2 separate regions of the Homo sapiens genome follow, and region 2 is linked to region 1. The links are contacts of gene promoters, found by promoter capture Hi-C in human tissues and cell types (Jung and others, 2019). All regions are on one chromosome and are shown on one strand. Each heading gives the region's core, a stretch centred on a gene start or on the middle of the fragment in contact. The rest is flanking DNA. Distances are from core to core; before and after follow the strand shown. Region 1 has its middle 28 kb from the start of SLC5A12. Region 2 holds the start of LIN7C (lin-7 cell polarity scaffold C).

The links. Contacts are between HindIII fragments. The study calls those that stand out against the background at their distance.
Region 2: a contact is called between the fragment with the promoter of LIN7C here and a fragment that was not itself captured in region 1, in 1 of the 25 tissues and cell types used here (heart right ventricle).

The regions. Positions count from the first base shown.
Region 1 is chr11:26,747,587-26,753,200 of GRCh38, forward strand. No RefSeq gene overlaps it. Among named protein-coding and RNA genes, the nearest start is that of SLC5A12, 28 kb to the left of the region's middle. The HindIII fragment of the contact is 6,078 bases long and covers 107-5,614 here.
Region 2 is chr11:27,503,636-27,509,249 of GRCh38, forward strand. It overlaps LIN7C (lin-7 cell polarity scaffold C), which reads right to left and starts at 3,134. Exons shown (of 5, transcript NM_018362.4): 1 at 3,081-3,134. The coding sequence starts at 3,117. It overlaps BDNF-AS (BDNF antisense RNA), which reads left to right and starts at 3,217. Exons shown (of 7, transcript NR_033315.1): 1 at 3,217-3,263. RefSeq lists enhancers at 2,695-3,894, 3,051-3,180, 3,251-3,540. The HindIII fragment of the contact is 14,064 bases long and covers 1-5,614 here.

The DNA.
Region 1 (5,614 bases), core at 1,896-4,395:
CGCTGCGTGTTGCACATCTTTCTATTAGACTCTGTATTTCTAAAAATAAGGACTATACCTTTATGCAGAATGTCAAAAAATACCTTAAATCAAAAAGTTGTCATTATGTATTGACTCTTCTATATGCCTTGGCCATGTGCAAGGTATGTTAATCAGTGTATCTCCTTATTTTTTCTATCCACTCTGAAAAATAGGTATTGCTCTTCTTATTTTACAGGTGAGAAAATTGAGACCGAGAAAGTTGTTCTACTTTCCCAAGATCATACACTTAACACAAATCCAGATTTATATAATTCCAAAGCTCATGACCTTTTCATTAGGACTTATTATTTTCTTGGACACAAGCTTTCTTCCAATTGTCATATAACGAATGTGTTTTTATGTTGTCCAATATGTGTGTTTGTTTCTCCATTCAAATTTCAAACTGTAATTAAGGTAATTTCTTTATCTCTGTTTGCTCACAAGGGTATTATTTAATAAGCCCCATAAAATTCTCCCTTGCTAAATGAAATGTTCTTTCTATTTTAGAAGCTGTATAGAGTCGGTTGTGATTGATGGCTGGGATGTAACAAAAATGAAACATGCCAAGACTTTGTAGTGGCTTTGCCTATAAAAGCAGTAATCCACCAACGCCTTATTATGGAGTACCTGATTATCATTATGACAGAAATATGGAGCCCAAACATCTTACTTTAATGAGCCTTTCTCATTTGGAGAACTTACTTTGGCTTGGGTTTGTTCAAAAATACTTTGCTCTTTTGAGACCACAGTACCTAATTTAGCAGCTCATTATACTTTACTGTAAATGACATTGTGTTCTTATTTCTAAATGTTATTTCCATCAGCACTTGATTTCCTACACATTTGACTTGCATGAGTTTTCTAATATTTCCTTAGATACACAATATTATCTGCATGACAAATTTAGGTAACTTCTTATAACAGATTCAGTTAAGCTTCATGATGTAGCTTTATTACAATCAAGGTCAAACACTGGCTCACAAGTTTTTATATCATAGTAAAAATCTAAAAGAAAATTTCATTTTTGTTCTGTCTCACTTCTCTTCTCCTAATCACCCTATCTATAAATTCTTAATTTTATCAAGCCCATCACTAAAATAAGTGCAAAATAATCAATTGTATATTTGTATATCAAGGGAATATTGTCTGGAATTATTTTTGGCAGAGGAAGGAATGTTAAATTATCCATCAAAACTACCTGATATGGGAAAATGTGGACATTAGCTATTCTTCAGTTACTATTAGCTTTGGTATTTCTTTCTGTGTGTGCATCTGTGTCTAATGGGGTGGGGGTGGAGGGTGTCAAGAAAGAGAGAGAGAATTTTGTTGCAGAGAAAAATAATTTTCACCTGAAACACATGCAATTAAGACGTTATCCTCTCAATTAAGTAATCCAAGATTACTTAAAAGTTTATCTAGTAATCCATCTGGTTTTGTTGCATGATGCTGTGGCTTAATAGTCAGGTTGTTCACTTTTGACATTACTGCCAGAAAGTTTAGACCAAAATTTCTGGCTCACACCCATATTAAATGTGTTGCTTATTGTAGTTTGAAGAATTAGACTTTTTAAATGTTTCTGTCTCAGATCCACTCCTTTACAGTTTTTCTTTATTTCTTTGCCCACATTTAACCTAGGCTAATTTACAATATTTTATTGTGCTGCACAAATCACTTAATAAGCCTTCTGAAATTCTTTCTAGAACAAGGTGGAATATAATACATGGACAGTCAATGTGAAGATCCTGAAATCCTGAGTAATTATCCCATATACAAATTTCATCCTTTTTAAAAATAGACACAACCAAGTTATGGTGTGTGCTTACTGTCTGCCAGGAGCCAGAAGTAGACTGGATGTGAACCTCAGCTGTTAGGCTGAGATATCCTTCTAACTTACTTTGACTCTTACTCTGAAATCTCTTAAACTCACCCCACCTTCTGCATCCCAAGGGCATTCATTATGGTTCTTTCTCTCACATTCATAAGCCTTTGCATCATGCATTCTAATTTACAAAGCATTTTGCAGTGCCTGTTAACCAATCTCTCTACCGCAGGTGCCCATCCATTCTAATCCATCCTGCACACCTATACAGTGTAATTTTCTTAAAATACCATTTTCATCTTGCTCAAGAACCTCTATCTGTCATTTTAAGGTGAAACATCTCGTCTAAAACTTCAACAACTTTCAGTAGCTAGCATCATCTTACTTCTACAAATAATTCCTCTCTTTAATTTTCAACATGAATCTTCCTCTTCAGTAGTTGCCCTAATTTTTCTCCAGCAGTGCTGTCTTCTTTTCTGCTTCCACATGTAGTTTATGCAGTTTCTATTACCTTGAACACCAGCCTAGTTTTCTCCTCCAATTAAAATCCTATTCAATTTTAAAGACTCAATTAATCTACAGTTCTTTCACAAAGGTTCTGAATCTCAGAGACTGTTCCTAACTATACTTGTTTTTTTTTTTTTTTATCATTTTCTCTAACTAGATTATGTGTTTCTTAATGACAGGCATGATATTGCATCATCTCTTGGGTCTGCCATGTTAGTAAGCCCAGCATTGAGAGATATTATAAAATTAGTAGAAACTTATTGAGCCTCAATCACTCCAAACAATTATCAAGTACTCAGCCAGAGGCCATATGTTTTAGAATTAGTAAAATGAAAGACCTAAGAAACTCCAGAAACTCTAATGGCCTGACTTCCACTCAAGCATTTCAAGATAATACTGAATCAAATTTGTAATACAATCAGAGTCCCCAACACTCTAGAGAGATGAAGATATTCATGGGCTTTGCTCAGTTACCATAAACTATAATTCAATATGGTCATGAGGAAGTATTTCCATAAACACTGTCAAAAAGAATGAATTTGGGTTTTTTAATTCCCGTTTTTCCATTGCTATTACTAATAACTGAGGCAAGAATCAACAGTGTATGCTAAAAGCAATGGGTGAAATTTTGATGGACTCAGGATTAGAATATTTCTCTGGTCTCAGAATGTCTCACCACAGATTATTAATTACTTATGAATAAAAAAATGACAACTATACAGTGTAAAAACTTGGTAAACACCACTAGTCAAGTAATCAAAGCTAACATTACCAATTCGTTACAGGCCAACCTGATACCAGATGCATGCCCCATGATGGAGTGCACTAAAATGACACAGCATCATTCATGTGGTATTTCTGCCAAAAATGCATCACCTGAATCTCATCATGAGGAAAAAAAAATCAGAAAATCCCACATTGAGGGACTTCCTGTAGAAACTGTCCTATACTCTTCAAAAATGTCAGTTTCATAGCAGAGAAAGGAGATTGAAGAAGAATGAAAACAAAATGCAATGACTGATCCTGGGTGGGATTTTTTTTTTCTGTGAAGGATAGTTTGGGAAGAACTATTGAAATATGTATATTAGATGATAGTATTGTATCATTGATAATTTCCTAAACTTGCTAGTTGCATTGCGATTATAAATGAATATCCTTGTTCTTAGAAGCTACTTTCTGAAGTATGAAGGGTCATAATGCCTGTCATTTGTTTAAAATTTCATAAATAATTATTATGGTATTCATCTATGTGTAGCAATAAATATAGATATATTGAGAGAAATGTCATGATGTCATAATTAAAGACAATATAAGTTTCATTGTACTAATTCTTGTGAGCCTTGTTTAACTCATCATTGTGGTAGCCAAAATAGTAGCCCCCTAAAAATGTCCACATTCTATGTGAATATGTTAAGGTGCATGGCAAAGAGTAATTAAGATTGCTGATGGAATTAAGATGGTAAATTAAACTGGAGATAGGCAAATTATCCTAGATTATCCCAGAGGGCTTTATGGAATCACTGGAGTCCTTATAAAAGCAGAAGAGGTACGCAGAACAGGGAGAAAAGGAGAGATGGTGACATGGGAAGGACTTAGCCTGACATCAGTGGCTTTGAAGATGGAGAAAGGGCCCACTAGCCAAGGAATACAGATTGGCTCTAGAAGTTGGAAAAGGCAAGGAAATAGATTCTTCCCTGGAGCCTCTAGAAGGAATGTGACCTGCGACATGCTGATTTTAGCTTAGTGGGACCAATTTCAGACTTTTGACCTAGAGAATTGTGAGATAATAAATTTATTATCTAAGCCACTAAGTTTCTTGAAGTTCTTACAGCAGCAATAGAAAACTGATACACTCCTTTTTTTTCTGTAAAATTAAAGTTTGAAAAAAAGCAGCGTATGTGTAGAATGCTTTCTAAGAACCCCAGCTCTAGAGGCAGGCTGTTGAATCAGGGGAGGTAAAAGATTGTCTAAAGGGTTTGTAATTTTTCGGAAACTTGATTTTTAACACAAATGAAGATGAAGAACTATTCTCAGAGTAGTACAACTGCAAATCAACACAAAATAGAAATAAAATGGAATCAACAGAAAATGAGACAGGAAGAGAGAATAAAGCTTTAGCCTGAGTCTTCTTTGGCATTTGTCAAGAGAGGGACAAAGGAAAAGGAGATAGTTTATATTTACGTATGTATTTATACACATGTAACATTATACATATATTTACTTTATTTACATAGTATGTATTTTATTTATGCTTATTTTATTATATTGCAATTATATATATTATATACATATACACACACACACACACATATAACACCCACACACACATATATATGTGTGTATGTGTACATATTGTATCTTTTGGGATGTGTGAAATGTTGAAAAGGGGACTGAATTCTAGTCTAGCTTTTGTCATCTTAGTTTGGTAAAACTGGGAAATATTGGGCTAGTTCAAAGTTAATTGCGGTTTTTGCCATTAAAAGTAATAATACAAGTGCTCTGAGCTTCAGACTCCTCAACTCTACCAAAAAAAAAAAAAATCACACTTATCTTGATGATTGCTGTGAGAATTAAATGAAAAAGAGTACAAACACCTAAAAGAGGGTTAGTATAAAATGTGTGATCAATATACAGAACCATCAATGCATTTATTATTGTTGCTACTTACACTGGTGCTTCTACTACCGTTGTTGGTACTTGGCTGTATCCACTTTGTTCTTTCATCATTCAGCCCCTCTTCATCAACTACTTTCTATTTTATTTTTATTTCTTTTCTTTTCTTTTGTCCTTAGTAAGATGCCAAAAACACAAGTGTATTTACAGGGCTATGTTCCAAAGTTCCACCTGGGCTGCTATGCTGACACTGCTTTCTTTGTCTGCCTCTTACAGGTAGGCGTTTCTTAACCTCTAGCCCCTGGCCCTCTTTTGTTGTCAAACTATATTTATTTTCTGGATGGCCTTTTTATTCTGATTACTTAAGATACTGTGTCACTATTGAGGACATCTTAATTTACGTATCCAATTGAGTTCCATGTCTAAGTCACATCCTCAAAGTCACAGAAAGGCAGAAATGTAAATTAGACCCTTGAGAGGCTTCTAAGGGAAAGAAGAAAAACTGGGAGGAATGGTGGCTTAAGAAAAATATCGGACGAAGCAAAACTAGTTTTGTCATATTTTTTGCTTTTGTTGTATTTTAGGGATAATGGAGTTTTTAGTACTTTGTATACTAGGAGGAAGTTGCTGAAGAAAATAATCAAAATAAAAGAA
Region 2 (5,614 bases), core at 1,884-4,383, 760 kb after region 1:
CCTGAGTAGCTGGGATTACAGGAGTCCACCACCATGCTCGGCTAATTTTTGTATTTTTAGTAGAGACAGGGTTTCACCCTGTTGGTCAGGCTGGCCTCAAACTCCTGACTTCATGATCCACCCACCTCAGCTTCCCAAGGTGCTGGGATTACAGGCTTGGGCCATCACACCTGGCAGAAAGATTATTTATTTATTTATTTGAGATGGAGTCTCCCTCTGTTGCTGAGGCTGGGGTGCAGTGGTACGATCTTGGCTCACTGCAACCTCTGCCTCCAGGGTTCAAGTGATTCTCGTGCCTCAGTCTCCCGAGTAGCTGGGACTACAGGTACCTGCCACCAGGCCCAGCTAATTTTTGTATTTTTAGTAGAGACAGGGTTTCACCATGTTGGCCAGGCTAGTCTCAAACTCCTGACCTCAAGTGATCTGCTTGCCTCGGCCTCCCAAAGTGCTGGGATTACAGGCGTGAGCCACTGCGCCTGGCCAGAAAGCAGATTTTTAAATTTGAGGTAAAGAAAGCTTAAACTTAAAAAGTTAATCAAATGCAATGGAAGCAAATAGACCTTCACCATTCTGATTTCCCATCACCAGAATGACCGATACATGGGGACTGTTGGTTCATCAATTATTTTGATTTATAAAGTTATAATATATAAGCCATATAAAAATTTCCAGTGAAGAAAAAAATGGAAAAAAGTAAAATGCTTTTGACTAAATCTAAAATGTACCTACTATGTGCTCAAATTTGTGTTTCATTAAATCATAGTTTGATGATTTAGAAGGCACTCTAAATCATCATATGTGATCAGGCACTGTATTGTAATTGTACTGTAGGATTTTCTACTTTAGGATCGTTGGGAGTGTTTGTTAATAGAGTCTGTTAGAATTCTAAACAAGAATCAGAGGTGATGTAATCTGACTTTCTTACCCTGCTAAATGGCAACCACTAGTACAGCTGTCTTGGTAACAGTGGGGGATTCATTAGGACCTTCTTCAGATACCACAGATATCAAGATCTGCAGATGCTCAAGTCTCTGATATAAAATGATATAGTATTGGCATAAAACCTATGCATATCCCCCCTCTATACTTTAAATAATCTCTAGATTACTTACAATATCTGACGCTACGTAAACAGTTGTTATATCACATTGTTTAGGGAATAAGGACAAGAAAAAAATGTCTGTACATGTTCTATACAGACACGATTTTTTTCTGAGTATTTTCAATCTGCAGTTGGTTGAAATATGGAACCCATGGATATGGAGGGCTGACTGTAATTCATCCTACTAAGAGGTGGAGTCTTCTACTGAAGAACAGAAAAGAAATCTGTAACAGCAAAAAACAAAGCCAAGACTATCAAAACTAAATGCCACAGAAGTTCCACATTTTGTGTTGCATTTAAAAATACAAAGACCGGCCGGGTGCAGTGGCTCACGCCTGTAATCCTAGCACTTTGGGAAGCCGAGGCGGGCGGACTTCCTAAGCTCAAGAGTTCGAGACCAGCCTGGGCAACACGGTGAAACCCCGTCTCTACTAAAATACAAAAAACAGCCGGGTTTGGCGGCGTTCGCCTGCAGTCCCAGCTACTCGGGAGGCTGAGGCAGGAGAATTGCTTGAACCCGGGAGGCAGAGGTTGCAGTGAGCCGAGATCGCGCCACTGCACTCCAGCCTGGGCGACAGAGCAAGACTACGTCTCCAAACAGCAACAACAAAAACACAAAAGACCAATACGTTAGAATCTTAACTAGCTTTCAAAGAAAAAACTTACTCCTGTTAACACCAAACAGATTTGCTCCCATCTATAAAACACAGTGCCACTGTGCTCAAGAGGAAGATGTCAGAGACTTAGGCCTAACTCGGCAAGTCTTCCCAGAGTAGCTAGTCCTCTAAAATGATGCTTTAATAGGCTTAACGGAAACAATCTCATTTACAGTGAGGCTTCCAAATGGTGAACACGGTAAAGAGCAAATCAGCAACATTAAGTGCACATTTGTTTGTGGGAAGGCATTAGGAAAGAGGTTTTTCTAAGTACAGTAATTCTAAAAATGTGTTTTCTTAGGGAACAATAGTAATATTTAGACTAATTGCAAATGTTAATATGTGCAATATAATTTCAGTCTCCATCCTACATATACATTTTTTTTTACCACCAGTACTCAAAATGTTTATTTGTACTTCTCAATTCCTATCAATGATTTCTAATGCTGGTGTATGAAAAGCATGCTTGAAATTGTTTGAAATAAAGGACTTAGGGACAGAGTGGAATGCTGGAAATCTGTAAAAGGACTGGAAACGCTGGAATGCTGGAAATCATGGTAGGCGCATAGCCAGTTATTTTCGTAGGCTTCTCTATCTCTAATTACTCAGCAGAGGTGGTTTTATTTTCCTTGACAGTCTGCTCTAGGAAGCAATCAGCCAACCAGTTTGCAATTGTAGGGTTTGTAAGAAATGAAAAACACTGCACCTGCAAGTGTTTTAGCATCTACCACTATTCGGCTTACTTACGTAACCTCCTTCCCAAGACCAAGTCAGTAGGATTGTTTTTAAAGCAACCTCTCCATTTCTAGGAGGGGCACAAAAGCTAGCAAATACCCCAACCCGAATACAAGCGAGGTTGTGGAGAAAGTAATGAAGGAGTTTGTGTGCAAACAGCGGGGAAAGGAGGTTCTGTTGAATTGTACCGTGTGTCCGTTCTCGTGCTGTACAGGCAATGAGTGTAGTCTGTGCGAACCGGGTGTGTGACGTTTGCTTTTCGGGTGTACGGGTCTCCGAATGCTGCTTCTGCTGTGCTCACCAAGGGAGCGCGTGTGCGGCGTGTGTCTGCGAAGCGGGCAGGTTGTGTTTAGTTGTGCTGTGCCTTGGAACAGTCCGTGTGAACAGAGGAGGGCTTACGGTTAACAGACAAAATACCGTAAGCGCCCTTCCTAGAGCCAGGCACAGAGACAACGGCGGCCTCTGGCGCCGGCACAAGGGACAGCGTGGCCCGGATCTCAGAGCCTGGGTCACTCCTCCTCCCCTCCAGCGACACAGCACTCCCCCAACCCTTCCGCCCACCTCCGCCGAGCCTCGGCTGCACTCACCTCTCTCCAGCCGCACGGGTTCCCCTAGCGCCGCCATCTTCTCCCTTAACCTACAGACCCACAGGAAATGACGACAGAAGGGCTGAGGTGGGGGGGCGGGGCCTAGGGGAAGCCGGAAAAGTGAGTACCGGCTAGTATCGCGAGATCAGGAAGGTGGCCGAGTGTGTCGCCGCGGCCATCAGGGTAAGGGTACCTGGACTTGCGGCTTTTTAGGTCGGCCTGGCTCCGCTCCTTCCGCGGTGACGAGGTCCCCCGGCCTCCTAGGGTTGGGAAGAGCTGCTTTCCTGACTCTCGTTCCCTGCCTCAGGCTTCCCTTATCCCAATCGCTTCGAACCCTTGGCTCAGCGTAGAGGAGTCAAGCCTGGATTCTAGTCCCACCTTGCCCATTAGCAGCTCTGTGACCTGGGACTGTTCACTTACCCTCTCTCAGCCTCAGTTTCCGCATCTGTACAACGAGAGGTCCTATCTCTTAGGTCCTTACAATTTTTAAACTCTGGGATTCGGTGGCAATTAAATGTGTAATGACATGTTGTCAGTTCTCAATTTGTGACAGCATTGCTTTAAATTTAAAAATCCACGGCTTGAATCTTCCCTCCAAATCTGTTAAGGGGTGGAAAGTACAAAGAGCATGAAACATATCTGGGTGAGGGAGAGAACAAGGTGCTTTGGTGCACCACAAAGTAACAATTTTATAAGCAGCTGATTCTTATAAAATCTTAAGTAAATGAAATATTGTGAAGCAAATAATATTCTTAATGCATTACAGATTTTTGAGCCACTTCTGAAATTTTCGCGAACCAAGAAGAATTTTAGTACTTGGATTTGACTAACATTTATCCAAGCCCTTAGTCTGTACTGATACTGTGGTAGGTGTGTTTACATCCAGCATTTCAACACTTCATGATGGGACTGTTTTAATAACCTGTTTGCCCCTGGTCCACCCTTTCCATTCACCTTTAGTATTTTCTTCTCCAAATCCATCATGGATGCCACCACTATGCTCCTTTTTCTCCCCTTGAATTCTGATTTCATCATCACAAGTTCTGTTCAGAAACTTTCAATGGTTTCTCTCCTGTTTCCTATTTCTAAAGCCTTGCATACTCTGACCCTAACTCATCCAACTAACTTCATTTCTCATTACCACTAAGTGCAACCACCACTTCAGTCCAGATAGTATAGTTTCAACCATATTTATTCCTGATTCCAAGTCTTTTTGTTTGTTTTAGAGACAGAGTTTCTCTCTGTTGTCCAGACTGGAGTGCAGTGGTGCAATCACAGCTCAAGAGAGCCTCCTGTCTCAGTCTTGCCAGTAGCGAGGACTACAGGCAAGCACCACCATGCCTGGCAAATTTTTAAATTTTTAGTAGAGATGGGGGTCTTGCTATGTTGCCCAGGCTGGTCTCAAACTCCTGAGCTCAAGCAGTCCTCCTGCTTTGGCCTCCCGAAGTGCTGGGATTACAGGCGTGGGCCACTGTGCCAGGCTCCAAATCTTCATTTGTGTTGTTCTTGTGTGGAATGCCCTTCTTCATCCCTTCCTAGTCTCCAAACTTTGTACACACTCAGTTGAACCCATTTCGTGGGTCCCTGCTGAAGGCATGCCACTTCTACCAAGCCTTTTCTCCATATTATTCCCCTTTTTTGTCCTCTGATGGCCTAAATACGTTGCAGTAACACTCAGGTGCTTATCTCTTACTCGTTGTCATTTTTTTTTGCTGCAAATGTGTTCAAGAAATGTTTATTAAACACCTAATATATACCAGGTGCCTTGATAGGAATACCAGGTAGAGCAAGACAAATGCAAACATTGCCCTTATTTCTTCAAATATTTTTTCTTTCCATTCTCTTGCTCCTCTCCTTTGGTGTGACTATTGGAGTCATGTGCATGTACATAATATACATGTATATTGAACTAACTGGCATTGTCTCACAGCTCAGTGACGCTCTGTTCATTTTTTTTTCAAGATTTTCTTTATGTTTCCTTTTGGATAATTGCTATGTTTTCATATTCATTAATCTTTTTTCAATATCTAATATTGAAATCCTGTCCAGTTCATTCTTCATATAAAACATTGTAGTTGTTGCCTCTACCAGTTTGATTTGGGTGTGGGTGTGTGTCTTACATCTTTTATGTCTTAACATGCTCAACTTTTCTGCAGCTTCTTAAACACATAGACTACAATTATAATGACAGTTTTAATATCCTTGTCTACTAATTCTATGATCTATGCTATTTCTGGCATAGTTTCTATTGATTGATTTTTCTCTTCATTACAGTTCATAATTTCCTGCTTCTTGCATGCCTGGAAATTTTTTTTTTTTTAACAAGATGCTAGACTTTGTAAAATTTACTTACTTGAAAAACAATTTTGTTCTTTTGGGTTTTGATTTTTTTTAGGTGGAACCAATTCAGTCATTTATGTAGGGTTAATTGTATCCCACTACTAAGACAGTACCCTTCAAAGTTCCTTACCCCATACCCAAAGTGAATTATGTGGTTTTTCTACTTTGGTAGGAACGGGAACTATTCTTAGGAA